Linked DNA regions of Homo sapiens: regions 1, 2, 3, 5, 6 and 7 are each linked to region 4. The links are contacts of gene promoters, found by promoter capture Hi-C in blood cells and fetal thymus (Javierre and others, 2016). All regions are on one chromosome and are shown on one strand. The core of a region is centred on a gene start or on the middle of the fragment in contact, and the rest is flanking DNA. Distances in the headings are between cores, read along the strand shown.

Region 1 (3,621 bases), core at 652-3,151, 4.8 Mb after region 4:
ATATATTTGTTTATACATTATATTAGAGCTACTATACTAATACCATATATAAGGTATATACAAACAAATATTAAAATAAAAATTAATTCAAATAGAAAAGAAAAATGTTCTGCCCACATCCCAATGGACTGTCTTGCAAATCTCCCCAGGGCTTACGCAATCCACTTCAGATATTACTAAGTACAACATGAAAAGTAAAATGAATTGCTTCCTGGACCTGTTTCCCCTAGGCCTACAACCTTATCTTATTAGATCTTGCCACTCCATGAAATATCTTGCTTTTATTATTATTTTCACATCACTCTAGTATATCAACTTTGGAAACAAAAGACATCATTCTATTTATAGCATTCTATTTTTAGTAGCAGCATTTCAATTTACAAAATATAGTAATTCTCAATCACTGAAAATGTCAAATCCTAGAAAACGTAGCATTCCTGAGTGTGATGGTAATATCATCCTCAAACAGTTGTTGGCCGAAGATTCATTTGATGAATCCAATTTTTCTGAAATAGACAATTCTGATGATTCAGAGAATTCTAATGTTAGTTCTGTTTAGAAATAACTCCAAGAAGAGTTTTTATATTTTATTTTCACATTGAAAATCAGTCAGATTTGGTTCAGCCTCGAAGGGCGTGTTTATGTAAAGTTAAATAAGTGCTGGCAGCGAGCTGCACTTTTTTTTTCTAAACAGGAAATGAGTTAACTGTTTTTTTCATCCTTGGATCCCTTATTACATAGTTACTTCACATTATCTATAAGACTCAAAGCTTTGGCTGCAATGATAACCAAATTAAAAGAGGTCCACACCTACAAATTTATCTACCTTCCCATCCATTGAATTTTCCGTTTCCTTCCTTAAGGAAGACAGGGTCCTTTTTCTAGGGTAACTAAGTGCTGTCATTAAAATCACTAGGAAAAAAACCATATTACTGGCTCTTATCTCAATACGGTTGCCTAAACATATATGTTTATCTCCCTTCTCTTCCAAATTCCATTGAAATGACAAGGAAACAAAATAGTCTAAAACTAAATAAAACCATAACCACACTAGAAAACAAAAGAGGGTGACATTAGCAGGTTAGAAGTGGAAAATTCTAGATCCATGGTTCTTAACTTTGGCATGCATCAAAATCGCCTAGAGGGTTGGTTAAAACACAGATTGCAGATCTCTATCCCCAGGGTTTCTGATTCAGTAAGCCTAGGGTGGGGCTCAAGATTTTACATGTCTAACAAGTTCCCAGGTAAAGCTGATTCTGCTGGTCAACAGCCACATTACAAGAACCATCCTAAGTAAGCAGAGGTCACTAAGAAAAACACTTTTTATTAATTTCAATTAGCATCCTCGGAGAGATTCAAGAGAATGGTACAACCTTTTTTTTGGAACAGCAAGTGGAAAATAAGAAATAGTTCTGGAAAAATTGGAAAAAAAAATAATTTCCAAATGAAAAACAAAATCAGAAGAACCTAATAACAACTAAAGTCCAATACAGCAATGTGAAAAATAGTCAAAGACATCTTTCAAAACACAGAGCAAAAGACAAAGAGATCAAAATATGACAGAAAAATTAACAAGCATAAAGGTCAGTATCTACCTAACAGGTTTCTGGAGACAGAACAAACACATCACAAAACATAATCAATGAGCAGAAGAAATTTTTCCTATGCTGAAAAATACTCAAAGCTTGATACTGCAGGGCCAAATCCCACGCAGGTTAAGCCAATAACTAGACGCATGTTTGTGGCACTTTTAAATGTAAAAGACATAAAGAAAACCTAAACTCTTTGAGAGGGAAAACACTGGTTATTACAAAAGAACATGAATCAGACTATCATCAGACATTTCATTAGCATGCTAGAAAAAAACGGTATGTTGTTTTCAAAGTTCAGAGAGGAAATTATTTTGAACCTGGAATTTTATAGTTAACTAGAATCTAGTTAAGCTATCAAATAACGAATATAAATTAAAGACACTTTTGGAAATTAAAGAAATAAGCAAATTTACTTCCTATATGTATTAGTTTCCTACTTCTATAAAATATTATCACAGAAGTCCAAAGAGATCTCAATGAGCTAAAATTAAGGTGTTGGCAGAATTACGTACCTTCTGGAAGCTTTAGGGAAAAATCAATTTCTTTGCCTTTTCAAGCTTCTGGAAGCTGACTACATTCCTTGACTAGTGGTCCCCTTCTGTCTTCAAGGCCAGCAATGGTGGATTGAATCCTTCTCTTATCAAGTCACTCTGACTCGGACCTACCTCCATCTTTCATTTATAAGGATCTTCAATTGGACCTAGCCAGATAATCCAGGATAATCTTCCCATCTCAAGATCTTTAATTTTGCTGGTGTTAGTCACACCAGCAAAGTTCCTTTTGGCAGGAAAAGTAACATATTTACAGGTTCCAGGAATTAGGATGTGGACACTTTTGGCAGGCCACTGTTCTGCCTACCAAACCATATAAGGACTCAAGGGTGTCCTTCAGAAAAACAAAAAAAAGAATTCAAGAAAGAGGATAAGATGGGATACATGAAAGTAGGTCCCCCATAAAAGGAAGCAAGTTGAAAAAAAATTTTTTAAGAAAAAATTTTGTCTTGATATTTGAATCTTCTCTTTCTAGAAGCGCAACTTTAGAGAAACTTAATTACATTTTCTTCCCTAAAAGTCCTTTTATGCTACCTGTTTCTATGGTGAATAAAATTTACATAACCAAAATATTATAAATCTTGTTTATTAGTTTCCAATTTTCAGAAATATACAGCCAAGCATCAGAAGACATGAATATCTATGTCTAGTTCCAGGATCTGGCAGATTCTGGACTCCATATACTGATAACATACTTACAGAGATACCACATATTATTTTTTCATATGTGCTATTTATTAGGAACTGAAGTTACATAGTACGGGTAGAAAATAAGTTAGAAGTATAGCCACAGTTAAACATATTAAATGATTCTTGCCTGTATTCTATAAAATAGGTATGAAGCAGAAATTAAAATCAATTCTGAAATACGTGTGTGCCTTTTCATTTAGTAGCTGATAATTTATGGAGTTGCAAATAAGTTGAATGTTATTTTTTTTAATATCTAAAAAGATAACATCCAACAATAATGAGACTATGAAAAATTGATACTCCCATAGACTATAGCTGAATTTTTTTTTCTTCTCCCAAGGAAAAGAATGGAACTGAAATTTTTTACAAGCAAACTTTTAGGAGTACAATTTAAAGTAGGAATATCTTTTGACCTAGTAGTTTTACTCCTAGGAATCTATCCTACAAAAATGTCATCACTTAGTATATAAGAATACTATTTAAGAACTCCACCATAGCATCGTTTAGAGTAGGGAAAAAATGGGACCCAACCTAAATATTTCATCAAATGGGAACTGGTTAAATATATTATCATTGACCATTAATGCACCAGCCATTAAGAATGAGGCACATCATGGAAAGATGTATGCACACACACATACATGTACATTGTTTTAGATTTTTATATGGAGAAAGGAAGAGCTGAAAGGATATACATAGAACTATAGCCTAAGTTAATTCTCTGGAACAGAAAGGAATGCATAAACTTTCAGTTTTGCATTACACACGTATTCCATTTGAATTTTGTT
Region 2 (3,629 bases), core at 577-3,076, 4.2 Mb after region 4:
ACTGGACTCTTTGTTCCTCGTTTACTTTGAAAAAATTAGAATAAGATTTGTCAGGCATTTTCGGTTTTTAATTTAAATTTTCTTCATAAATCTCTAGTTCTTCATCACATCCTAATAAAGTATTAATATGCATGGTCTTTTTGAGATCAAAAGACATGACAGTCATAAAAAAAGTTATCATAATTCCAGCTTCTACCATTAGTGGTAATACTGCAATATTCAAATGTTTCATATGTTGTGGCTTCAAAAGAACTTACCCTATAGAGGCAGCTACACCCCCTGCTGGAAATCTTTGATCATAACAACTTTGGCTTCTGTAGTCTCAATCAGGAACATATGAAAAGCCAAATAAAGGGCCTTACCACTCATGACAGAATTGACCAATACTTTAGCCTGTCTGATACAAGACAGGCTTTTGGAGAACAACCTATGTCAGAATATCACCTTGATTACAGACAAAATACACAAAGAGGATGGAGAATAATGATGTAAATAGCTAAATAGCCAAAACACTTGTAAGATATTTGCTTAATTTCCAACTGTATTTCCACTCTTTACCTTATCCCCATCTCCTGCCTAGACTTCTCTTTTTCTCTCTATCTCATACAATTAGGCCTACTTGAGGGGAGGAAGAAGGCAGGATAAGATGGGATATTAATCCTTCAGCTAGGCAAATAATGGTGTATCAATCCACAGTAGCCATTTGCTGCATTAAGGTGCTTAAGGGCTTTCCCCAAATTTGTTTTATGGGTACCAATGATATTTTCAACATGAAGAAAAGGTGCTAATTATGTCTTGGCTGTTACTGTAGAAAATATTTTGACAAGAGTTAAGGTAATTGTGAGCATGGGACTGGAACAGGAGGAAAGTAGTGCATTGACCTTCTTGGCATTTTGTTCCACACAGCCTTGTTCTGTTGATATTCCAGAACTGTATTTTCAGACTGAAATCCCAAAGATGGTATCAGAGTCTAGCTTTAAAATGTCATGCTCATGAAACTCTAGTCCTAGGACATAACTGAAATACTGAAAGCAGCACACTATTTTTAAATAATTCGTATTTTGTAAAGATTATTTGTAATGCAGACTCCTTTTAAAGGAAAAACAATTCATTCAGATCCCACCAGCACAAATACTTTAATTAGACAAAATCTTCAAGTTATTTCCTCTCACAAAAGGAGGTATTGTTGGGCCATCTGGACTCTCTATTGAGTTTTTATGAAAGATCACAGCTTGAATTTAATCAACCCCAATAAAGTTAACCCCATAAAGCTAAAAAATAATTGCAAGAATTGCTAACTGAAGGATTTGAATTCTCTGTTTGAGATTGTTACCACTGTCATTTGTAAATCATTACAATGGGAAACAGGAACTTGTATTGCTTGACTATTTAACCTCATGAACATAATTTTTGTGAATTTCCCACTCTATTTAGACCAAATTTAGATTGTGAGTCTCTCTACATAGGAATAACAAAATGAATGTTTGGCTCTATATAATAACTAGAAGATCATTAGTAGAAAGTTCAATAAATGTTTGATAATAATAACATGAAACACTCTAGGTTTTATGGATTTCTGTGGATTTGTGGCTAACAGAAGGCTTTAGATTATATTTCGAAGTGCCAGCTGAGATAATCACTTTGGAAAATACAAATCATTTAAAGAAATCGCTGAATTCACCTGTGAAAGTTGAGTTAGATGTCCTTCCTCAAGTACAATCGACATATTTCCACATAACATCTCTCTAGTAGGTAAATGTGAGTTACTAACAACAAATAACTATAGGTCTGAAACATCTGGAAACATTCTAAAGAACTGGTGCAGTATAGTTTCTGAAACCAACGATAAAGTGGCTAATCACTTCTCAATTAAGTCTCTGTCGGTTTTCCCTATTATTTTAAACTAAAATAGATGGTAAATACTTATTTTGCCAATTCACATGTTGCATTTTCTTCAAAAAGGCAAAAATACAACTATTTTTCTAGTTCAATAAATATATACATACTTCTAAATACAGAAGGCCCCTGACTTACGATGGTCCAACTTAAGGTTTTTTGTCTTTACGATGGTACGAAAGCAATAGTGACAGCATTCGGTACAAACTGTACTTTAAGCACCCATACGACCATTTTTTTTTCACTTTCAGAACAGTATTCCATACATTACATGAAATATTCAACATTTTATTATAAACTAGGCTTTGTGTTAGATGATTTTGCCTGACTGTAGGCTAATGTAAGTGTTCTGAGCATGTTTAAGTTAGGCTAGGCTAAGCTATGATGTTTGGTAGGTTAGGTGTATTAAATGCATTTTTGACTTTACAGTATTTACAATTTATGATGTGTTTATTGGGAAGTAACCCCATCATAAGTTGAGGTGCATCTGTACTTCTGTATGTCTCAAATTACAATGTGATTCTTTTGATGAACACATAGCTTCTTTCATATACATCTGTTATACAGTGAGGAATAAGAATACTCACCTTCTTTCTCCAACTAGGCTTCTTACTCCTCTTCGGCACAGCCCAGGACAGGCCTATATCACATACATCATTTGTTTCTGGTTCTAATTCTTATAGGAATAGACATTAAATAACTTTTTTATGCTATGCCACAAAATATTTATATTAGTTATTCTGAGATTTTACAAACATGACAATAATGTAAAACTGATGTAGCAAAAGCATATAAAGAGCTATATGTATCCTATAAATTAAATTCTTATAGAATTAAATTTAAAAGGAAGCAATTATTTAAAATGATATTTTAGAAGCATGTATTTATTGAGGTAGAAAAATAGTCATAATACTTTATGTGGGAAAAAATGGTACAAAGCAATAAAAGCTGTATGTTGCTGTTGTTGTTGTTGCTGTTTGAGATGGAGTCTCACTCTGTTGCCCAGGCTGGAGTGCAGTGACTCAATCTTGATCTCAGCTCACTGCAAGCTCCGCCTCCCAATGGGTTCACGCCATTCTCCTGCCTTAGCCTCCCAAGTAGCTGGGACTACAGGCGCCCGCCACCACACCCGGCTAATTTTGTATTTTTAGTAGAGACAGGGTTTCACCATTTTAGCCAGGATGGTCTTGATCTCCTGGCCTCGTGATCCGCCTGCCTCGGCCTCCCAATGTGCTGGGATTACAGGCGTGAGCCACCGTGCCCGGCCTTAAAAGCTGTATGATTCTTATAAAAAGAAAATGTCTGAAAATAAGATGACAATATTATTGACCAACATGTTATTAGAGATTTTAACTAGATGGTGAGATTATAGCTAATGTTTATTTTTTTCTGTCTGTGTTTTCTAATTTTCTACAATGAACATAGTATTTCTTGTACTATAAAAATTTGAATTATAGTGGGGTTGAAAATTGAGAAAGGCAAAGAGACACTGTACAAGGCAGGATAAGGTAAATTGTCTTGAAGCAACTGGCTGCCTACCATGTATGTCTCTATTTTCTCTTTTACGCTTCTCTTTTCTTCTCTCTTTTTTTACCCCCTCCTACTCTTACTTTAGGTGTTTTTTCCTTTTTCCTTTCCTTTTACTTTTTAATTCTCTGTCTTCTTTTCCTTCTCTCTTAATTATCTCTTGGGCCTCTTACAGGCCACATTAGGTATTGCCTGGTTCCGTTTGT
Region 3 (3,161 bases), core at 84-2,583, 4.9 Mb after region 4:
AAGGGAAGGTATGGAGTTTTTTTAGAAAATGTCTGATCATACTAGCGAAAATGTAACCCTTGGCTCCAACTTTGAGAGACTGTTTACTTCAACCTTGTACTAATGTAGATAGGCTAAGGCACACTTTCTATTCCTGGCATTCTTCTGATTTCCTTAGCAGCCCCAAGGTATGTCTATGAGCAAACATGACCATCTTTTAAGTTTAGTTTGCTCAATGCCTGCATTATTTTTTCTTCTGATTACATTCTGAAAGTCCTCGGGGCTTTTATTTCTTTTTTTTTTTTTTCTTTTGAGACACATTTCACTGTCGCCCAGGCTGGAGTGATCTTGGTGCGATCTTGGCGCGATCTTGGCTTACTGCAACCTCTGCCTCTGGGCTTCAAGCGATTCTCCTGCCTAAGCCTCCCAAGTAGCTGGGATTACAGGTGACTACCACCATGCCTGGCTAATTTGGTTTTTTTTGCTTTTTGTTTTTTTGAGACAGAGTCTTGCTCTGTTGCCTAGGCTGGAGTGCAATGGTGTGATCTTGGCTCACTGCAACCTCCGCCTCCCACGTTCAAGTGATTCTCCTGCCTTAGCCTCCTGAGTAGCTGGGATTGCAGGCACTGGCCACCACGCCTGGCTAATTTTTTATTTTTTTAGTAGAGATGGGGTTTCACCATTTTGGACAGGCTGGTCTCAAACTCCTGACCTCGTGATCTGCCCACCTTGGCCTCCCAAAGTGCTGGGATTACAGGTATGAGCCACTGCGCCTGGCCTAATTTTGTATTTTTTTGTAGACACGGGGTTTCTTTTTTTTTTTTTTTTATTGCTATACTTTAAGTTCTAGGGTACATGTGCACAACGTGCAGGTTTGTTACATATGTATACATGTGCCATGTTGGTGTGCTGCACCCGTTAACTTGTCATTTACATTAGGTATATCTTCTAATGCTATCCCTTCCCCTCCCCACACCCCACGACAGGCCCCGGTGTGTGATGTTCCCCATCCTGAGACATGGGGTTTCACCATGTTGACCAGGCTGGTCTCGAACTCCGGACCTCAAGTGATCCACCCACCTCAGCCTCGAAAGTTTTGGGATTACAAGCGTGAGCCACCCCACCCAGCCACAGGGCTTTTACTTCTTTTCATTATATACATATTTGCCTTTTAAAACCCATATGTTGAAAATCTAACATTTGCTTAATACTGCATAATGGATACTTGCTTTCCACTTAAATGTTGTGGTCTTTATAATCTGCAGGTCAGCAGTGTAGCTAGGGGCTGTGTGAAATGTTTAAGATATGATCACTAGCCCCAAGGAATTTACCATCTAGTAGGGGACACATTAGCCACAAAAATGCACTAGGTAGTATGTGGTCTCTGATGTCTGGACAATGCTATCAGTGAGTTTTATTAATAAAATAGCTGCAGAAGGAGAAGACACTTTTGGCTAGGGTAGTGAATCTTCATTTAAAAATGTATTGCTGGCCAGGTGTGGTAATCCCAGCACTTTGGGAGGCCAAGGCAGGAGGATCACTTGAGCCCAGGAGTTCAAGACCAGCCTGGGCAATACAGTGAGACCTTGTCTCAACAAAACAAACAAAAAACTGTGTCTTTTATTTTTCTGTGTGTGAGTTTATGATCTTTGTTTTCTTTATTTCTTATAAAATAAGCGAGAGATATGAACATCAATCATTATAAAAAGCAATCAGAAAAGCCACAAGGTTTAGACTGGGAGAGAAGATAGTCACAGTTCCCGTGAGATTTACACCATATTAAATAGACTTTGATAAGATTGTGTTTTAGTCTTGGATATATCCAAAACTGGATCTTTTAAATTAGAAGGAATTGGTTAGACTTTAATTAGACGAACTGAAAAAATGTTTAGGTTTGTGTTCATTTGAACCAGTTTCTTTTAATTCAACTAGTTTGTGAGTTGTTCATCAAAATAACCACATTCTTGTATCTCTTGAGTTTTCATTTGGTTTTTAAAGGCTGAACCAAAAAGCGTCAGGGTTTTCACACAGCCTTTTGCCATTTCATAGCTCCATGTTTCCTTGGTGATTCTAGTGTTCATAGTCTGCCAGGTCCACTTGGAGCTGTTGCCACTCTGCATTCCTCTTCCATTGTTGGTAATATCCTTTTTTTTCTTCTTATTTCTGTAAAGAAAGTGACTTATTTTCTCAGGGTTCTGAGTTGGCAGAAGTTACTGCAAGTATTAAATCTCCGTTCAATAGTGAAAGAGAAATATCTGATAATCTTTAAGCAATGATTAAATTTTGTGTCCTCAATCACGTTGGTGTTAGATTGCTTTTTTTTGCTTTATAAATCTGCGCTGAATTTTTGTTTCAAGATGTTTTCAGAATATTGTTTAAAATGTTACTCAGTACACTTGCTATCATCTCATAAATAATAGTGAGTGCCCATATGCTTCAACAAGGTTTTTTTTTAAAAAATCCCTTTCCCCCCAGTGGTGATATAAATTTGCTATTTCCTAGACTTTTCTGAAAATTTTATCGGCATGTTCTATTTTACTGAGGTCTTATGACCAGAAAGTGTTCATCACTATATGGCCCACAGATTTGTGTTTATCCTAAAATATGTATAGGATTATCATGATACCATATTAATTCCCATATTTTCCCCTTATGTTTTAATTTAGAAACAGGAAAGAGAAATTTTGCAAGCATTTCAATACTGAACCACTGCTACTCAGTTTGATAAATATTTGCAATTATTACTAGATTTAATGAGTGAGATACTTGCTACCTTGTATGTGTAAAGCACTGGTAGGCATTATAACCAAACAGGTAAGTATACTGCGCAGTGACCATCATTAAGAAGCTTACAACAGTGATTTACACAATAATCAATGGAAAAAAATTTGGACTTTAGCTCCCTCACACTCAGAATTAAAAAGGCATAGTTTCTTCAACAAGAATTTATTTAGAGTCTACTTGTATACCAAGTATACAAGTAGATACAAAAACAAGAGATACAAAGATAAAACATATTTCCCTCCTTTTGGGCCTCATATCAGTATATTTCAGGAGACAGATTAAGGCAAGGGATATAGATTTGGAAGTTAGCTGCACATATGGTAGTTAAAGTCACCAAAGTTAACTATGGTGCTTCCTCAAAATACTAATAGAACTACTATATGATCCAGCAATTTCAC
Region 4 (3,337 bases), core at 15-2,514:
AGAAATAGGCTGGAATGTCAGTTGTATATCTTGCTGCCAACAAGGGAACAGAAAAGATTTCCCAAGATTCTGTCAAGCCTGGTGATCCCATTTGTCTTTGGAAATGAAAGCCTAATTAAGAGACTCCCTAGGGACAGGTCAAAGGAGTTTTTATCCCCATCGTCCTTATCTTAGTTCCTTGATGCATTAGTCCTTCCCTTTAATTTAGTCTACCCTAAAACTAAAGAATACACATTGTGCAAGTTTCCACCTTTGCTTTCTCTACTGTAAATGCATTAGACTATTAACAGAATTACGAGTTTTAAATCCCACCTTCCTTATCTCTAAGCTGATGTTGATTTCTTAAAGTGTTTTTGAATAAAGCTTAACACTAAAAATTATTGTAATACTTTAATTGGATAACACTTTTTAAAAATATCGGAGTCTGACTAAAAGATTACAAAACCCCACAAACATCGTTATAATAAAGCTATTATGATAAATAATACTTTGTAAAATTTGAATTCGGTTTTATGTCCTAATTTCAAAGATTGTGGTTGCATGATATTATTTATCCAGGTTAAATTCCTGTTGGAATTATATTGACAGTGTTTCATTTCTTTGAAACAATTTTAGGGTTAAGCGTCTCTACAGTTAAAACAGAGAATATCAACTGTAGTCCCAGTTACTCAGGAGGCTGAGGCAGGAGAACCGCTTGAACCTGGGAGGCGGAGGTTGCAGTGAGCCGAGGTAGTGCCACTGCACTCCAGTCTGGGCGACAGAGTGAGACTCTGTCTCCAAAACAACAACAACAAACTTGAAGAGATGAAAATGTTCTATCCAATCATGATAATTCCGTGTGAGTTTTCCAATGTTTAGAAACACGTGTGGGCACCACTCCATCCCTGACCAGCAAGCTTCCTCCAGACCCACTCCACACCGCCATGTTAAAATGTCAACTTTTACTTTTTGGACTCAAACTACAAAATTTAACTATGTCTCCTCTTACCAAGATTCACAATGAACACCTAGGAGTCAAGGTAGGCTTCATAACGCTAAAGAGACCACGACTCTAATGACCACCCCAAACACAGCATTCCAGCCTAGCTGTGGTCTGCAATTACCCACTTCAGAGCCTCGGCGCAATGTCACAGCTGCAACTGATTGGTGTAACGTGCTTGTCATTCACATAGAGAGGGTGGGGCCTCAAAGCCCGATCTAAACCAGACTCCGTGTCTTACGTCATCGCCAAGCGACTAAAGCTGGAAGGGAGGGGGCGGGGTTGTGAGCAAATCTTGGTGGTGGTGGTGGTGGGGCGGCCTGAGAAGATATCATGGCTGCTGCCACGGAGCTTAATCGCCCGAGCAGCGGTGACAGGAACCTGGAGCGAAGATGCAGACCCAACCTCTCCCGAGAGGTGCTCTACGAAATCTTTCGCTCCCTACACACCCTGGTTGGACAGGTGAGAGGTGGCCTGAGGGACTGGGAATATGGAAACCATCCGGTCCCTCCTCGCCATTCTTTTTCTCTAGCAGAGGCCGGGGGCAGCTAGGCCTGCAGAGGTGTGGGATGCGGTCCCGAAGCCGAGGTGTGGAAGGAGCCCGGGCCCAGCCTCCTCGGTCGGAGTGAGGAGGACGGCGGTACCGGTTGCAGAGTCGTTTACCTTGCAGCTGTCCTCCCCAAGAGTGGGTGAGGTTGGCCTAAGTGAAAACCCGGCTCCGAGAGAGGCAGGCTTGGAGAGAATGAATGTGGAAAAGCTTCACTGCGAGTTTAGGAGGCGCTTAGCGTTCAGGGTCCTTTTTCCTCCAACTTACTCTTTATGGGAATTGGTTGGTCAGTAGGCCTGAGATTTATAGAAAAGCGCGCGCTTATTAGCTTTTTTTGGTGGGGGAGGGAGTAATTTGTTCTTATGAGTTACTTGGTTTTGTTTATTTCTTTTTTCCTTCGGGCTGTTTTGCGCATCTATAATCCTTTCAAATGGGGAGAAAAGTAAAAGGAATTCATTTAAAATACTTCTAGCGTAAAATGCTGTTGGCGTTAGAACTGTCGTTATTTAACTATTAACTAGTTTAACTGGCTGATAAATCGCTTTTGCAGAAATGTCATAGTAAAATTGGTTTTAAATTGAAATGGGCTTCTTCGATCAAGTCACTGTTTCGTTTCATGGTGTAAAATTCAAGTTTTAAATGAGAAACAATTTAAAAGTATGCTTGTTTACCTGCCTTTTAAAAGGAAATATTTTCTATCTTACATAGACCATTTTCTAGCCGTAAAAGTTTGTTTTGGGGCTGGTACTAGCGCAAGTGGACAAAGCAGGCATTTGTGTCAAAGATAATGGTAAATTCCTATGAAAATAGAACATTTGTCTGATTTGTGAAAATTATTTTTAAAGCCTTGAGTAGATGGAGAATCAGTCTTTTAAGAAGTTACTATTTTTAAAAATCGTAGTATGTTGTGTCTTACAAAGAACATTACTGTAAGTTAAACGGTTTTATGAAATGACGCAGTTATTAATGGAGTCTGCTTAAAGATATAACTTTTAAATTCAGTTGTTTGCCAAGTACTTACCAAAAACATTTTTTAAAGACTTGGGGTGTTTTGTTATTAACATTCCATTCTTAAGACCCAAGACGTTTAAATGGTTTAAAAGTTAGAGAACTTTTTATGGCGACGTTGGAACTTAAGTTTATTTATTTTATAATGTCAAGATGAAAAAAGTTTATTCTCACCTGTTAACAGAAGATGGAATATTTTTAAAAAATACTGAGCAATGATTTAAACATTTCTTTTGAAATATTTTGCATACTGAATTTTTCAAACTCATTAGAAAATTTTAAACATTCAAGTACTGTACAAGTAAAGAAGTGATTACAATTTACTTATGTCACCTGTCAAAAATGTTCACAGTAAATATTTGGTTACTTTACCATGACACAGTGAAGGGACCTCCTATACAAGTGTCAAAAATATGATTGTTTCATCAATTAAATACAAACTGTTTTCATAATACTCTATATTTTGAGAAGTGTTAAGAGTGAAAATTAGAGTTCCATACTTATAAAATTGCCCCCAGAGAAATCAGTATTTTCTTTTGCAACCACTTTAAAGGATATTTAGAATGTATGTTGTAACATGCCTAACTTCATCCTGTGTCATCCCTAAGTATCGTTGTATTATTAGATCTCCTCAGTAGGAAACATAAAACTGAATGTTAAAAATAATTTTTTACTTAAGATCACAAAATTTACTAATTTTAACCTTTTTGCTTGCCTCTGGATGGTCCATCTTACCAAGCTAAACAATTATTTATTTTTAGCTTGGATTTTTGTATTAATTTAGTAAAGTTTTTACTGAAAAT
Region 5 (3,208 bases), core at 63-2,562, 4.1 Mb after region 4:
CCTTCTTGATGGGCACAATATTCTTAATTGATTTGAGCCCAAAATGGACAAAAGGTGTATAAACAAGACTAATAAACTAGTTTCTCTATAGTCTGTCACCCAACAGAGACTAGATCTCTATAAATATTAATCCATTCACAGAGCTTACCAAATGATTAGACCATGACACCAAATTCCCAATCATTGTTTCCACCCAGTACAGCAGACACACTGGCTGGCTGGAAGCAAAACAGAGACAAATCACAAACTTAATAGAGAAAAATATTAAAATTAGAAAAACAGAGTCACCAAAGTTCTATTGTCATTTGGCAGCCAAGAAAAAAATGTGTTTGGGCTTTAAGCAGCCCACAAGCTAGTCTGGTGAAACGTATATCTGGTTTTGTTAAGATGAATCCAATAGACAACTCATTGGAAGACCTCCAAACTTTTAAAAAGACAATTTTTTTAAAAAAGTGGATAAAATCATGCCTCTCATACACATAAAAAATGAACACACGTTAAAGATTTTATCACGAATCAATGCGGAAACGCAGGAGACGTTACAACTAGTTCAAAAGAGAAATAAAAAAATTATGTGGAATAAAGGAAGGTTGAATGTGCAAATGGAAGCAAAACTGGGTTCTTCCATAGTGGTGAAGAGAAGTCAATTGAACTTCCAGTCAGGAGAGAATTTGCACAGCTATAAACAGAAATTATTAACTGCCATCAGTTATCTACAATCTACAGAGTTGTAAAATAGCTTCCATAGAATGTGAATCAGATTTTGTATTTTCCAGACAATCCAGTTTTCTACCTGGGCACAAATGTTTTTTCCATACAAATAACATCTATTTGTAAATAACATTTTTCTGAAATAACATTTCAGAAAAGTGGATGAGTGTATATAGAGTTAAATTTGTAGTAATTACAAGAAATTAAGAAGTTCCTCTCTGACATGGTTTTTTCCCTACCATAAAACAGAACATGAGGTTTACACATCTTCTACACATTAGGGAACTGGTTGCCATGAAAGGGCTCCAAGCACCAAAATATCTCACATCAGCTTTACCAGAGTGACTTTCTCATTTCATTAAAAGTAGCCATTAAAACACAGATAGGTCATATGGGTGATATGCCAGTGATTCTCTGAATACAGTGGCATAAGTCAATCCTCTGGAAACTGTAAGAAGTTGGGTCTGGGAATCTATCACTAAGAAAGCTTGAGAAATACTGTTCTAGTATATTTTAGTTTGTGGAGTTAGTTAGCAGAGCCCTGAAGAAATAAAACCCAGACTGATGAGTCTTTAAATATCCTTACAATTGTAAGTGGGACATTTAGGAGGAGTCTTGGGGAGCCAGTGGGTGCATTATGAGGGAAGGAAGTATGGCCATAAAAGGAAGCCAGTAGCAAAGAAAGGGGCCTGGTGGGGAACTCGAAACAAGCTTCACCTGATGTAGTGTGTCTGATGGAAAAGAAAGGAGAAGAGAGGAAAGAAAGAAGGGTGCTGACAAGCCCAAAGAAGATCTTATAAAGGCTGAGAGCTCACAGGAGGCGTGGAGAGAAAGAGAGAGGCAGAGGGAGAATGCAGAAAGATATCTCACAGACACCCCGGCCGTACTCAGGACAATTAAATCAGAATCTCTTTCCAGGCACAGTGGTGTGCACCTGTAAACCCAGCTACTTGAGAGGCTGAGGCAGAAGGATCATTTGAACCCAGGAGTTCCAGATCAGCCTAAGCAACATAGTGAAGACCCTGTCTAAAAACAACAATAACAAAGTCAGAATCTCCAGGGGAGGACTCAGTCACTCGTATTTTTAAAAGCTCTTGTGATTGCGACCTGCAGCCCAGGTTGATAACCTTTGTTTCCCACCTGGAGTTCACCAATTTCACACCAGGTGACGCCGGTCATTGATGCTGTGGTTCTAAATGACTCATCTGTTCCTTGCTAAAGAGGATGTGAGGATTTAGGATGAGTTTCTTCTTCTTTTTAATTAGAGCAAAATTCCTGAAGAGGAAATGACCTGTGGTTTTTGACTTTCAATTGTGTCACATCACCAAATGTGCCCTTTCTGTGAGTAAAAAGAACAAGGTCAGCTTTCCACTTAGTGTGTGCTGTCTTGTTCTGCAGTCAAATGAGCAGAACTCAGAAATATAATTGTAAAATGGCAGGCTTGAGGTCTTTATCTTTTTCTTTGCAGTTTACTGCAAATAGTATGACCTAGTAATACTACAAATGGTGCAGTGAAAACAGCAATGAATTCGGCATCAGAAGATGGTAGGACCAGTGGCCAATCTTGCCCAGGGAGGTCACTACACTTATATCAGCCTCAGTTTCCTCTTCCAAAAAATAAGATACATCTCTTTGGATCTAAAATGTCATTGATTGCGAAATGCACCATAGTTTTACATGTCACAAAGGAAAGGCAGTTGTTTTATTTCAGTTAATGTAAATCGTTAAAATTATTATGTTTATTGATGAGTTCAAATGTTCCAGAATATAAAAATAAAACATTTGTCTCACTGAAAAAATCCTTTAAATAAATTTCTTAAAGCCAATTTGTTAATAATTCCTATTAAGTAAGACTCATCGTGAGGGTGGTGGGGGGAGTGCGGTGGCTCACGCCTGTAATCCCAGCACTTTGGGAAGCTGAGGCAGGTGGATCACCTGAGGTCAGGAGTTTGAGACCAGCCTGGCCAACACGGCGAAACCCCGTCTCTACTAAAAATACATAGCCGGGGCGTGGTGGCGCACGCCTGTAGTCCCAGCTAATTGGGAAGCCGAGGCAGGAGAATCACTTGAACCTGGGAGGCGGAGGTTGAAGTGAGCCGAGATCGCACCACTGCACTCCAGCCTGGTTGCCAGAGTGAGACTCCGTCTCAAAAAAAAAAAGACTCATCGTTCTCAAATGAGTCAAATCATACAAAATATTATTTAATTAAATAGCCACCTACCTCATAACTTTCCTATAAGGATGTGATAAAGAACACTATTTCCTCCTAAAAAAAAACGTGATTGGAAATTCATATATGCTTAACCACGGGTACTAACACTAGAGTTGTTTTTGTCAAAATGCAAATACGGCATCTTAAATATTTTTGAGTTTAGCAGAAGCCAATAATGTTTTAATGTTGCAAGTGTGCAGTGTGAAGACATGCTAAACTCACAAATGTTTAAGATCTCATATTTGCATTTGGCAAAAACAACTTTAATCTAGCCTAATAAAAGT
Region 6 (3,468 bases), core at 591-3,090, 4.9 Mb after region 4:
TTAATGCTATGCTTTGCCTTTAGTTCCAACTTGAAACAAATTGTACAACCTACAGCACCTCAATACTACATACAATGAACATAATTGTTTTATAACAAAAATTAAAGTTATACATTTGTGAAAATTTTGCTGCATACTATATCATCTCAGCACTCCAGTTGAGAACCACTGTCTTACCTGTTTTCAATTTCCCCCATTGTGGCTTACTGACATAATTCTAGTTTCTTTATTTCTAATGCTTTAATTCACATTTTACTATTTTATTGCATGCATGTCCTTCCTTCTTAAATTATTTGCAGAATGAAACTAAGTGTTCAAAAAATAAAATACAGAAAGGAAATGCTGTCTTTGGTGGCCACTCTCTATAGCCTTCTGCAAATAGAAGTAAAAAATAAGTGAGCCACAGCCTATTACAGTACCTACAGCAATGTCCACGAGATCCTCACTCAATAGGAGGGTTTAAAGTAATTAGTGATTTTTGAGAAGCTAACCATTACCATCCATACTCCATCTATTCTACTCACAGGAAGGGTTTCCCAATTTGTTAAAGAAACCCTCTCTGTAGAAAGATCTCTGCGAACCACATAACCTATTCTCTATAGACCTCCCTATTTCCTGCAGCCACATACAAATGGACACCAAAGTCTTTTCTTATTCTGGGACATAGCTAATGGTTTGTATGTCAAAGTTTCTTTCAGGCCTGTAAAATCTGAATCTGAGAGCCGGAGAGAAAAGAGACTCAGTAGTTATAATGACATAAAGGTGCAGACATGAAGCAATTCAACTTGTCTGTGCTTTGCAGACAAATGTCAACAACTGTTGGAATCCCTGCAATGCAACAATCAGAGATCATGTGAGATTTTGCTTTCTGTTTTTACTAAAAGTGTAAACCTGGCTGCAAGATAACCAGCAAACAAGCAGCTTCGATTTTGTGTACAAAGGACTGTTGATTATGCATGGACTATTTTCTTCAGTCACACTACTTTGTATGGATAGCAACACTGTCAGTGATGTCATCTTTTTAAACAACAGATCCGAATGTATAGGCACATTGTGTCAACTGAGCCCAAATCAATGACCTGGGTAATGCAATCAGGGTAACACTATTATTCCTCATCTAAACCATCCAAGCCCATAGACAAATAAATGCTAATCTGATGCATGTTTAAGGAATACGTTACATGGGAAAGAAAATCAAGCCCTTGTTTAGTTTTATTTACATTCTAATATGTACTTCCAGAAAATGCATCACAGAATTTACGTCATATGCATCAGAATAAGCTGTTTTATTTTTGTATTAGTAGCGGGCTAAGTTATTAACAATCATACTTTCTTGGATAAGAACATTTTTAACAAGGATATCTTCTAAAGAATGTGTATTCGTATAGCATACCAATACCTTTTCACAACTGTGGAATCAGAATAATTTATGGCATTCCCGATAGAGGAGGCAGCATTGTTTTTATTGATTGGAATAAGGAAAATTTTGAAGGATGTATATATAGCTTTTAGTTCCATCTCCGCTTGCTTTATGATTCGATTATTTGTTTACTTACTTTCATATGGGCATAACATGAATTTAAATCAAGCAGATTTAAAATTTTTCAACAGTTGGAACCTAAGCTTTCTGAGGTGAAAAATGTTTCTTAAAAGGTTTGTAGGAAAGAGATTTAACGAGTCTTTTCAATCGTTTAATAAAAGTATACACTGAGCGCCTTCTACAGAGTTGGGCAGGTGCTGCCGAGAAGCTTAGCGCTACGCCGGCCTCCAAGACCGCACATCCGGGACATTCGAGAGTCAGTCCGAGGCCCCGCCCTCCTAAGGGCGGGGCCACTGGGCAATCGGCGCAGGCCCTTCGTCGTGCCCCGCCTCGTCTGCCCCGCCAGCGCGTCGAGGGAGGGGCCAGCGACACATGGCCTAGTAACTGTCCGGCCGCGGCGCTGGCTTAAGCCATGGCTGAGGGTAGCCGGATTCCTCAGGCCCGGGCGCTCCTACAGCAGTGCCTGCACGCCCGGCTGCAAATTCGCCCAGCCGATGGGGACGTCGCGGCCCAGTGGGTGGAGGTAACGTCAGCCCGGCAGCTCTCGTTATCCTCCGGCGTGCGGGGCGGTTTTTTCCGCGTTGTCTCGGTGACTCGTCCGCTCTGTGTCTCCCTCTGAGACCGGCGGTCCGGCCGCGGGGATACCGGGTCAGCTTGAAGCTGGCCGCGGTGGCCTGCCTGGCTGCGCTTGTCTTTTCGGTCCAGCATCACCGTTCCCCAGCGCCAGTTGTAGCACCCGAGAGGAAGAGCGTGTCTCCCTTCTTGGGGGGACCACAGGTATTTGAAACTGAGTTCGGTGAACTTCAGGCCTTACTGTCTCAGACCCCTTGCAGCTCGTGGTCTATGCTGGTCGGGGGCAAGCTTGTAGGTCAGGTTTGCTGCAAGAGTTCATGATCTGCTTTGACTTACGCCTCAGATCGCGTCGAATTCCCCCCTATGTTGACTTGGTCTTAGCATAGAAATGAGATTTCCTAAGAAACAATTCTATTTCAAGAAGCCTTTTAAAAGTTTTGACCAATTTCCAACTGAGAAACAAAGACCTCTACTTTTATAACAATGTTGCCTTATCAAACACATTTCTCCAAAGAATTTAAAACATTTATGTCACTATGAGTTCCTTCTACTTTCATACATACTTTACTTTTTAAGACCGCCTGCCCCCACTGCATACAAAAACAAATAAAATTTTCTTTAAGGCCTCTGACGTATTTTTGGAGTACGTTGAAATGTAAGAAAAAAATTAGTTCATAATTAAGACTTTTGTAGATACTCAGAAACTTCAGTGTAGCAAAATCTCATTCGCTCGCCTTTTCTGCTGAATTCGGTCCCAGATCTAGCATTACTTAAAACAATTTTAGTTATTATTTTACATTTATTTTATTTTTTATATTTTATTTATTTATATTTTATTTTATTTTTTGAGATGAATTCTCGATCTGTCGCCCAGGCTGGAGTGCAGTGGCACGATCTCGGCTCACTGCAACCTCCGCCTCCCGGGTTCAAGCAATTTTCCTTCCTCAGCCTCCCGAGTAGCTGGGACAACAGGCGCAAGCTACCACGCTAACTTGTATTTTTAGCAGAGACGGGGTTTCGCCATTTTGGCCAGGCTTGTCTGGAACTCCTGACCTCAGGTGATCCACCTGCCTCAGCCTCCCAAACTGCTGGGATTACAAGCCTGAGCCACCGCACCCCGCCTACTTATTGTAAATAGTACCCGTGAACTATATGATGTGTGGGTGATTATTCTAAAATCAGAATCTGTTGCCCTGTGCTAATTTGGAAATATAAGCATAGAAATTCCTGTATTCTTATCTCTCTCCTTTCCCAGAAATTCACTTTTCTTATTTCTTATTTTTGTCATGATTTTTTGTGAGGTCTTGATTTCCTTATTTGAAATTTTATTATTTTATTTTGCCATCCTATCTAAA
Region 7 (3,102 bases), core at 68-2,567, 4.8 Mb after region 4:
TATGTCAGGTCTCTCTCATACAATCTTTTCTTTTTTCTTTTTTTTTTTTTTTTTTTTTTTTTGGGGTCAGAGTCTTGCTCTGTCACCCCTGCTGGAGTGCAGTGGCATGATATCGGCTCACTGCAACCTCTGCCTCCCCGGCTCAAGCGATTGTCCTGCCTCAGCCTCCTGAGTAGCTGGGATTACAGGCACTTGCCACCACACCTAGCTAATTTTTGTATTTTTAGTAGAGACGGGGTTTCACCATGTTGTCCAGGCTGTTCTCAAACTCCTGACCTCAGGTGATCTGCCCGCCTTGGCCTCCCAAAGTGCTGGGATTATAGGCGTGAGCCACCGTACCTGGCCCCTTTTACTATTTTCATATGTCTTCTATTACATAGAGCTATGTGGTATTTGAGGAACAAAAGTATATTATAATGATAATTTATATCACCTATATGTAGCACAGCGCCAGGCACATTGTAGGGGATCAGGAGTTAGTGAGTGGTTAGCTATTATAAAAGCAATGCATACTGGAAATATCAGTGGAGTAGAGAGATAGAAAAGCCTGGGATGTTGTCAGAACTCTGCTACTAACTAGCCGCATGGCCTCAGACAAATCATTTAACTCTAAATCTGTTTACTTCATACACCATGAAGGGATTAAATGAAATAATCTGTAGATTCTTCTTCCAAGCTCATATTGAATTAAAATAAGAACTGAAGAGAACAAAGTTGTGTAACTTCACTGTTCCTAAAATACTTTTGAGAAAATAAAGGCAAATAGTTTAGAGATGCTGCAGACCAGAAAAAGCACAAGGTATATTTTCTTCCTTAAAGAACACAAATTGAAGTGTTATAAATGGATTTTTCACACTTACCATCATTTTCACCTTTACCTCTATTCTCATCATTTGTTCATCTTGGGAATAGTTTCTTGTCTGCCTTTTGGGAACTAGATTATTGACTTTTCATGTTCCAGGGAGTCTGCAACTCTGACCCCAGTTTCAGTCAAAGAAATTGTTGTCCAAAGTCCTTCTGAGTAAACAACACAAAATAGAAGTATTTTGTAGACTATTATAGGCTCTCTTCTTGCCTAAAACACAGAAGGCTGATCAGACCCTGTTTTCCTTTCGCCAAAGTATTAAAATACATCGACCAACATAGATATCCATTCCTGAAAGTCTCAAATTAAAAATATCAAAGTCAATGTTACTTGCACGCTATCTATAGATTCAACAAAACCCCAATCATAATCCCAGCAATTAATGAGATGATTCTAAAATTTCTTGAGAAAGTGCAAAATGAGAGCATTTACTCCTGACTTAGGAGTGATCAAAAGTTTCTTAGATGTGTCACAGAATACAAAAGCCATTTTAAAAAATGTACAAGTTAGGCACGATCAAAATTTAAAACTTCTGCACATCAAAAGATCCCACTAAGAAAATGAATAGCCAATTTGCAATAGCCACAAATAAAATAGAACACCTAGGAATAAACTTAACCAAATAAGTGAAAGATCTCAGCTGGGCACAACAGCTCACAATTTTTGAGGGTGAGGCAGGTGGATCACTTGAGCCCAGGAGTTTGAGACCAGCCTGGGCAACATGGCAAAATCCCCTCTACTGAAATACAAAAAATTAGCCAGCCATGGTGGTGTGCACCTGTAGTCCCAGCTACTCAGGAGGTTGAGGTGGGAAGATCATCTGAGTCCAGGAAGTTGAGGCTACAGTGAGCCAAGATTGCACCCCTGTATGCCAGCCTGGGCAATGGAAGTGAGACCGTCAAAAAAAAAAAAGAGGGAGAAGAAGGAGAAGGAGGAGGAGGAAGAGGAGGAGCAGGAGGAGGAAGAGAAGGAGGAGAAGGAGGAGAGGAAGAGAGGAAGAAGGAGAAGGAGAAAGAGAAGAAGTTGATATGGTTTGGATTTGTGTATCCACCCAAATCTCACGTTGAGTTGTAATACCCAATGTTGGAGGTGGGGCCTGATGGGAGGTGATTGGATCATGCAGGCAGATTTCCTCCTTTGGTGCTGTTCTACTGATAGAGTTCTTATGAAATCTGGTTTTTTAAAAGTGTGTGGCAACTCCCCCATCTCAGTCTTCCTCCTGCTTTGGCCATGTGAAGATGTGTCTACTTCCCCTTCACATTCTACAATGACCACTTTCCACAATGATTGTAAGTTTCCTGAGGCCTCCCCAGCCACACTTCCTATATAGCCTGCAGAACCATGAGCCAATTAAACCTCTTTTCTTTATAAATTACCCAGTCTCAGATATTTCTTTATAGCAGTGTGAGAATGGACTAATACAGATCTCTAAAATGAAAACTGTAAAACACTAATGAAAAAAATAAAGGAAAAAGATACTCCATGTTCATGGATTGGAAAAATCAATATTGTTAAAATGTCCATAATACCCAAAGCAATCTACAGATTCAATGCAAACCCTATCAAAATACCAATAACATTCTTCACAGAAATAGAAAAAACAATCCTAAAATTTATATGGAACCACAAAGGAACCAGAATAGCCAAAGCAATCATAAGCAAAAAGAACAAAGCTAGAGGCATCAAATTATATTACAAAGCCACCTGACTTCAAATCATACTACAAAGCTATAGTAACCAAAACAACATGGTACTGGCATAAAAACAGACACATACACCAATGGAACAGAATAGAGAACCCAGAAATAAATTCATGCATTTACAGTCAACACATTTTCAATAAAGGGACCAAGAACATACATTAGGAAAAGAACAGTCTCTTCAATAAATGGTGCTGGGGAAACTAGATGTCCATGTGAGAAAGAATGAAACTAGACCCCTATCTCTCACCATACACAAAAGTCAAATCAAAATAAAAACCTAAATCTAAGAGCTGAAACTTGAAACTACTAGAAGAAAACATTGAGGAGATGCTCCAGGACATTGGTTCAGGCAAAGATTTCTTGAGTAAGAACTCAAAAGTATAGGCAAACAAAGCAAAAGTGGGCAAATGAGATCATATCAAGCTAAAAAGCTTCTACACAGCTAAGGAAACAAAGTGAAGAGACCACTCACAGAATGGGAGAAAATATTTGAAAACTACCCATCTGACAAGGGATTAATAACCAGAATACATA

Evidence for each region. The method cuts DNA at HindIII sites, captures the fragments that hold promoters and counts their contacts. A CHiCAGO score of 5 or more calls a contact.
Region 1: a contact is called between a fragment that was not itself captured here and the fragment with the promoter of MBIP in region 4, in 9 of 17 cell types (naive CD8 T cells, total CD4 T cells, total CD8 T cells and 6 more). The highest score is 26.1, in naive CD8 T cells.
Region 2: a contact is called between a fragment that was not itself captured here and the fragment with the promoter of MBIP in region 4, in 1 of 17 cell types (total CD4 T cells). The highest score is 5.9, in total CD4 T cells.
Region 3: a fragment that was not itself captured here is called in contact with the fragment with the promoter of MBIP in region 4 in 1 of 17 cell types (total CD4 T cells); the score reaches 6.2 in total CD4 T cells.
Region 5: a fragment that was not itself captured here is called in contact with the fragment with the promoter of MBIP in region 4 in 1 of 17 cell types (total CD8 T cells); the score reaches 7.0 in total CD8 T cells.
Region 6: a contact is called between the fragment with the promoter of DTD2 here and the fragment with the promoter of MBIP in region 4, in 7 of 17 cell types (total CD8 T cells, activated CD4 T cells, fetal thymus and 4 more). The highest score is 12.9, in total CD8 T cells.
Region 7: a fragment that was not itself captured here is called in contact with the fragment with the promoter of MBIP in region 4 in 2 of 17 cell types (total CD4 T cells and total CD8 T cells); the score reaches 9.9 in total CD4 T cells.

Annotation. Positions count from the first base shown.
Region 1 is chr14:31,565,410-31,569,030 of GRCh38, reverse strand. The region is part of intron 3 of NUBPL (NUBP iron-sulfur cluster assembly factor, mitochondrial); the gene reads right to left. Among named protein-coding and RNA genes, the nearest start is that of NUBPL, 5.8 kb to the right of the region's middle. The HindIII fragment of the contact is 430 bases long and covers 1,687-2,116 here.
Region 2 is chr14:32,070,427-32,074,055 of GRCh38, reverse strand. No RefSeq gene overlaps it. Among named protein-coding and RNA genes, the nearest start is that of ARHGAP5-AS1, 4.5 kb to the left of the region's middle. The HindIII fragment of the contact is 4,057 bases long and covers 1-3,629 here.
Region 3 is chr14:31,438,653-31,441,813 of GRCh38, reverse strand. All of the region lies in intron 2 of HEATR5A-DT (HEATR5A divergent transcript), which reads right to left. Among named protein-coding and RNA genes, the nearest start is that of DTD2, 17 kb to the left of the region's middle. The HindIII fragment of the contact is 2,993 bases long and covers 1-2,829 here.
Region 4 is chr14:36,318,564-36,321,900 of GRCh38, reverse strand. MBIP (MAP3K12 binding inhibitory protein 1) reads left to right here and starts at 1,264. Exons shown (of 9, transcript NM_016586.3): 1 at 1,264-1,441. The coding sequence starts at 1,313. RefSeq lists enhancers at 866-915, 1,316-1,575. The HindIII fragment of the contact is 840 bases long and covers 899-1,738 here.
Region 5 is chr14:32,204,904-32,208,111 of GRCh38, reverse strand. No RefSeq gene overlaps it. Among named protein-coding and RNA genes, the nearest start is that of RNU6-8, 3.2 kb to the right of the region's middle. RefSeq lists an enhancer at 1,653-1,812. The HindIII fragment of the contact is 224 bases long and covers 1,201-1,424 here.
Region 6 is chr14:31,455,878-31,459,345 of GRCh38, reverse strand. It overlaps DTD2 (D-aminoacyl-tRNA deacylase 2), which reads left to right and starts at 1,840. Exons shown (of 3, transcript NM_080664.3): 1 at 1,840-2,063. The coding sequence starts at 1,953. RefSeq lists enhancers at 1,676-1,855, 1,996-2,205, 1,650-2,235, 2,236-2,821. The HindIII fragment of the contact is 653 bases long and covers 1,751-2,403 here.
Region 7 is chr14:31,548,686-31,551,787 of GRCh38, reverse strand. It overlaps LOC105370438 (a long non-coding RNA gene), which reads right to left. Exons shown (of 4, transcript XR_943723.3): 3 at 861-1,017. Among named protein-coding and RNA genes, the nearest start is that of NUBPL-DT, 11 kb to the left of the region's middle. The HindIII fragment of the contact is 3,368 bases long and covers 1-3,001 here.